Regions from separate parts of the Homo sapiens genome. Here region 2 is linked to region 1. Evidence: promoter capture Hi-C in 16 types of primary human blood cells and fetal thymus (Javierre and others, 2016). All regions are on one chromosome and are shown on one strand. The core of a region is centred on a gene start or on the middle of the fragment in contact, and the rest is flanking DNA. Distances in the headings are between cores, read along the strand shown.

Region 1 (3,301 bases), core at 530-3,029:
TAAATATTATGTGGATAACTTAGATGCAAGTAAATTCTTGTATTTACAATTCAAATATTCTTATGCCATTTTCCCACTTTGCTTAACCTAATATAATGGCCTGATCAATCTGATTAGGAGGACTTTTTAAAATTAACTTACTCAAATGCTCTGAGATAGATTCTGAAGGACTAAAATTGTGGTCTTTGGTATCCAACAAAAAGGGTTCAGACTTATCTCTTACTAGCTGTGTGATCTTGGCCAAATGACAGTATCTCTGAGCTTCACTTTCCTAATTTGTAAAATGAAAATAATAAGAGAATTTGAGTTGTAAAGTTGAAGAAAAAAATAAGTTTGGTAGTGTTCTTACCATATGGCAGAAAACAGCAGTTATTCTGATGGTCATTATTACAAGTGTGGTTGCTAAGATTATTGAAAACGTATTGTTTGTTCCCTGTTCAAAGAGCTAGAATCTTAAGGCAGCTTTCCATTCTTTTCCTTAATTTCACCCCTCAGATTCTGTCACACACTGGCAAAAACATATTGGCATTTTGGGGGAAGGGATCCACTGAGGCGACACTTTTGGTGTATCAAGTATATAAGGTATAGAAATCTTTGGAGTCTTTCTTTAGACTTCCATTTACTTTCCAGTAGATTGAGTGTTAATAATCGTCCTGTCTCCTGCTGTGGATAGCTGTGACCTGGTTCATCTATTGGCACCTTCTCTGGTTCATAGACAAAGAGCAAGAACCCAGAAAGAGCGGCTTTTCTTTTCTACTCCTATTGCTAAGAACCCTCTTGGATAAAGACAATCTTAAACAGATTATGAAATTGTTACTTGTTATAGGATCAAAGCAATGTCCCAACAAAGAGCACTGGCCTCTGTTTATTACACTTAGACTTCACTTGAGATACCTTTCCATCTCCTAGAGAAAATAGATGTTTCAATACCTTCCAGGCACTGGAATAATACAGCCAGGGCATCTCTACAACTGCATGTTTAATTATAGTGTTCCATCCAGATGAATGCTTTTCCATCAAGGTCAGACTGACTGACCAGTTGAAATGCTTGATTTTATCCTAAAGTCAGAATCGAGTAAAGCTGCTGGAAGCCTACCCAGTTTACATCCTATCTTCCCCACAAAACCTGCTCTGAGGATGCAAGTTGAAATTTTACTTATATGTGTGCACATGTGTGTATGCAATATATATGTGTATATATTTGTATATACATATATACACACATATGTATATATATACACCTATAGAGATGTATGTATATATTACAATTACAATGTATATATTACAATTAATTTGGCTTATTTGCTCCCATTCTAGCATTTTTAGGATAGAAACAATAGATGACATAAATCCCTTTTCTGCCACAATATAATATCACCTAAAGAATCATGTTTCATTAGCTAGAAGTGGGATTTGCTTTCATTATTGCAGTACATTTGATAATATAAAAATATTTCTGATGATTTTTTCTTATGTGAATTTCATAGCATCTTCATCTAAAATTTACTTTGGAGATTCAGACCAAATGTCATATCAATTTCCTAGACTGCTTAATATGTAATTCTGCTACAGATTTTAATCTCAATGTAACAAGGGGGAAAAGCAGAGAGAAATGAACTAGGTGTACTCAGGATCACTATCTGCTATTGAAATTTCCCCAAACCTAAGAGGTTTCATCTGTACATAGAAATATTTTCACCATGGAATGTATAGTGGTTGAACTTTTGAAGAAAAGTTGACTTATTGTCTAAAAGTTTTCCATTTGCCCTCTTCTAGGTTTGCACTCAAGACTGACATTTACCGTAATGGAAGCTGTTCATATGCCCCCAGGAAAGAATGAACAATTTAATAGAAAATGCTAAAGGAGTGATATTAGGTGAGCATCTCATGTCATCCGAAGAAAAACATAGGCAGATTTTCTACTCTTTACCTTATTTCCCACTTTATTTTCAGGATGTGGGGATAAAAATGTAGGGTCTGATGAATTTTTCAACAGCTTATAATTATTAGTGTTATTGTTAGAATACCAGAATATAACTAATAACCAAATGTAAAATGTTTGGTAAGGAAATTGCTTTATTAAAAATATAAATTGTGTGGGTGTTAGTAAATGTTAAAAGGAACTGACAATATAAAAGGCACAAAAATTGATGACTGTATTTCAAATGCTGAGAGGTGTATTTTTGTGTCTTTTTCTCTTTCTCCATCTTATTGAGCACCTATAAAACTAATGGCATATACTTACAAGATGGTGGGCATGTTTTGGATGCTCAGTTTATGTCTGTAGGAAAGAAAACAACACAAAGATAATTGCCTCAATTAGGTCAAATAAACGATGAGTTAGAGGCCGAATTAGGATTCACGTTATGAGTTTCTCAACAGTTACCAATAGAACCAATGACAGATATGAGAGTAACGCAATATATGCCAAGATACTTTAAAGTAATTTACTTTATATTAATATTATCTATTAAGACATCTTAGTTCAACCACACTCAGCTGCTCTACAATAACCCCAGAGCTTCTGAGTTACAATATGCCAGAAATAGGTAAGTGGCTCTGCTCACACAATATAATTCAGGCAGATCCAGTGTCCAGTCATTGTTGTTCTACCACCCAGTTGTGAGCTAGAATAACTTCCTTAATTTTTTTGACCCTCGAGGATATTGAAATAATATAATGCTTACTTCATTAGGTCATAGTGGAGATTAAAAAATGGTTATTAAGATGATATGCCCTTCATCTAGGAAAAAATCAATAAATGTTACTGATGCTATCGTCATCATCATCATCATCATCATTATCATCATCATCAAGGTCATGACAGAAAGAGGACACATTACATGAAATCTCAACTTCATCCCTGGGCCATGCACACCTGTAGCTAATTTTTGTATCTTTCTATTTGAGTTCGGGTTTCGCATCGTTTTGTCCCACACAACAGAAGCTGATCTCCAAAGAGAGGAATGATGTAGCCTCAAGTAACAAAGACATTGAGGGAAGTCTTTCACATCCTGGGATGCCTGTGGCCCAGCACAGAGGGCTGTTGGGTTGCCAACACAGAGTTTACCCCTCAGGTGTCTGTAATTGGGTAAAGAGAGGTGAAGTTTAGCATGTGATATGTAAAACGGGCAGCTACAAATACAATTCTAAAACAAGCAGAATTGGCTCCAATTCTTCCTTCTTTTTCCTCACTCTCAGATGCTCAGGAAGCTTTCCTGCTCTTGTCCCTGACAGGAATATATTATACCTTCCTGGATATGTAGGTGGATATCAAGAAAGTGCTTATTTGCAAGCAACA
Region 2 (3,146 bases), core at 1-2,500, 1.2 Mb before region 1:
CCTACCTCTCCCCTATGACACTTTTTAGTCTTTTAATTTTCTCTTATTTCTGTGCCCTCCAACAGACAGAAAGTCCAGGAGGAAGAATCTGTATCTGTCTGTTTTACCTCTTCAGGGATCTTTAACATCTGACCTGGAGTCTGGTACTTAACGAATGCTCAATAAATACTTCTTGAATAAATACATAGGACAGAAAAAAAGTGAAGAATAACTTTGCTTGTTCTTGAGTTCAGGGTGAACCCCAAATGCTGACTCCACTCACTTTCTTGGTCTTTATGTCTCCCTGTGATGTCCTGCCCTTGGGTGCTCTTTGAACATCAAAGAGCATCAGCCTAGCATGCTGTGTCAGAGAGGGGATTCTGGAGTCAAAATGCCTGGGTTCAGATTCCAGCTATGCCATTCATGAGCTGTGTGATCTTGGGTGCTGAATCTGTGTTCCTCAATTTTCTCATTTGCAAAATAAGGAAAAGAGTGCCTAACTCAAATTGTGGTTTTGAAGAGTAAAAGCTTTAATGTAAGCGAAGTGCTTACAGCAGATACTGACACATAGCACAGGTTGAGCATCCTTAATCTGAAAATATAAAATCTGAAATGCTCCAAAATTGGAAACTTTTTGAGCAGTGACATATCACTCAAAAGTCATGATCAAACGGTTTTAGAATACCAGATTAGGGATGCTTAACTCTAAGTACAATGCAAATATTTCAAGCTCTGAAAAAATCTGAAACCCAAAACGCTTCTGGTCCCACGTATTTCAGATAAGGGCTACTCAGTGTATAGTGACAACACAGACATAGTGTTCATTCAAGAGCAAGTACTGAGTTAACATTTAATTATCATAACCTTTAAAAAATTAAAACAGTGAATTGTGCATTTCGTTGTAGGAAAACCCTTATGCTTTTAGATAAATTTCAACCTCTGACCCTAGCAACATGAGCTGTCCCTAGGATCCTCTTAGCTTCCTCTAGTATCCCTCTAAGTGCCAGGTGCAGAGCTGCTTTCCTCTTCCTCCAATATGGCAGAGTTTTTCAGCTTCTGGGCCTTTGTCCGTGCTGTTTCCTCCAGTGCCCTCATCCTCACCTCTAGGAACTGGTTCCTTCTCACCCCCAGGAGTCACCTCTTCCACGAGACCATCTCCGATCTAAGCAAGCTCAGTCCCAGCCCTCTATTTCAGGAGCACTTATTAGAAGGAAGAATTATCTAATTGAGCTGTTTAATTTCTCTCTCCCATCAAAAACCCAGCTCTCTAAGTGCACTGAATCCCTTACCCAGGTACTGAGTAGGTGTCAATAAAAATGTTGAATGAACATTATGGCTGGGCATTAGGTGGCAGATTCCAAGGCCTGCCTCTGGACCCCCATGTTACTCTTGCGTAGGCACCCAGCCCCCTCTCACCCCCTTGTCTGGCTGCATGGCCCTGACCTTACCCTCTCCAGCTAGTGTTCCACATGGGGCATAAGCCTGGAGCCCTGGCTGCAGATCTCAATTCCTTGCAGCCTCCTGGTTGTTTAGGGTCCTGTTACTCTCCTACTCCAAACCCTTTAAAGGCTTCCTATCCCACTTACCATAAAATGACAAGCACCCACATAATCATATATCTTTCTGCTTCTCTCTTGTTCACTGTGCTTCAACCAAAATGACCTTCTTTTGTTTCTCAAATCTGCCAAACCTGCCCCATCTCAGGGCCTTTGAACTCCCTGCTCCTTTTGGCCTGGAATGCATATCCCTCACCTCATGTCCCACAGGCTCTTCCTCTTAAGTTATCTTTCAGTTCAATGAAACCTTGCTGACCCACCGTATAACATGGTACCCAGAGATATTAATGTTAATCTATGCTATTAGCTGTTTTTTCTCTTTATAATTCTTACCACCACAGTTGACCCTGGAACAATGTGGGGATTAGGGGTACTGACCTCTCGAACAATACAAAATCTGAGTGACTTTTGATTCTCTAAACTTGACTACTAATAGCCTACTATTGACTGGAAGCTTTACTAATAACATAAATAGTTGATTAACACACATTTTGTATATGTATTATATACTGTATTTTTATATTAAGTAATCTGAAGAAGAGAAAATGTTATTAAGAAAATCATCAGGAAGAGAAAATATATTTACTATTCCTTAAGTGGGTGTGGATCATCATAAAAGCCTTTAACCTCATCGTCTTTACATTGGGAAGGCTGAGGAAGAGGAGGAAGAGCAGGTGTTGGTCTTGGGTGTCTGTCTCTTGGGTGGCAGAGGTGAAAGAAAATCTGCTTATAAGTGGACTTGTGCAGTTCAAACCCATTTTGTTTAAGGGTCAACTGTGTTTGAAATCATTCTTCTAAAAAAATCTGCCTGTCTCCATTTCTACCTGTTTCTTGTGTTAGAATGTAGACTTGTTAGAGTGGGGAACTTCACCTCTCTTCTTATCCATTGTTATATTCAAGTGCCTGATGCAGTGCGTGGCACAGAATCAGCATTTAATAATATTTGCTGAATGAATAAATGACAGAAGGAATGAGCGAATTCCCTTTTCCGTTCCTCCCTGGGACACAATGTTTCTCCCCAGAACTGTTGTTTGCTGAGTAGAGTTTGAGGTCCCCTAGATGGGGATCTAGGCCCACAGACCCAGATACTCCTGATAAAGATGCTGCCACCACATTCTTGTTCAGGGACCCTTACTGACTTTTGCTTCCCTCCCTTCCTCTCCTTTCTTGGATGGTGTCCTGATGCTTTAGTGTCTCTCCTTAGTCCTCTGAACAAGCAATTTCAAGAGGCAACCCAGTGTGGCTTGAGACATTGGGAGATCCAGGTTCAAATCCAGCCTCTTTCACTTATGAATTCTGTGGCCTTGAACCAAGTCACTTTGTTTCTCTGGGACTCAGCTTCCTTCACTGCAAATTGATACTGTGGTGAGAAATAACAAATAGCTATTGTCATACAGTGGCACCGTGAGGATTAAATAAGATAATATATCAAAATGTTCTAGAACAACAGTAAATGCATGAAACAGTATTGGCACTCTGGAAGTCAGATACACGTTCAGTTTGACTTGTCCTCAAGTTCCTACATCATTTCTGCACCAGGAACTCTTGCCCTCCCTGATACCACACCCTTGTCCCAGCCAAGCCCCCATACTTGGGCTGACCAATGAATAA

Evidence for each region. Contacts are between HindIII fragments. The CHiCAGO score rates a contact against its expected background, and 5 or more counts as called.
Region 2: a fragment that was not itself captured here is called in contact with the fragment with the promoter of GRM7-AS2 in region 1 in 4 of 17 cell types (M0 macrophages, endothelial precursors, M2 macrophages and 1 more); the score reaches 8.1 in M0 macrophages.

Annotation. Positions count from the first base shown.
Region 1 is chr3:6,892,495-6,895,795 of GRCh38, reverse strand. It overlaps GRM7-AS2 (GRM7 antisense RNA 2), which reads left to right and starts at 1,779. Exons shown (of 2, transcript NR_131906.1): 1 at 1,779-1,876; 2 at 2,748-3,159. The region is part of intron 1 of GRM7 (glutamate metabotropic receptor 7); the gene reads right to left. The HindIII fragment of the contact is 4,859 bases long and covers 1-3,215 here.
Region 2 is chr3:8,133,418-8,136,563 of GRCh38, reverse strand. No RefSeq gene overlaps it. Among named protein-coding and RNA genes, the nearest start is that of LMCD1-AS1, 370 kb to the left of the region's middle. The HindIII fragment of the contact is 1,482 bases long and covers 510-1,991 here.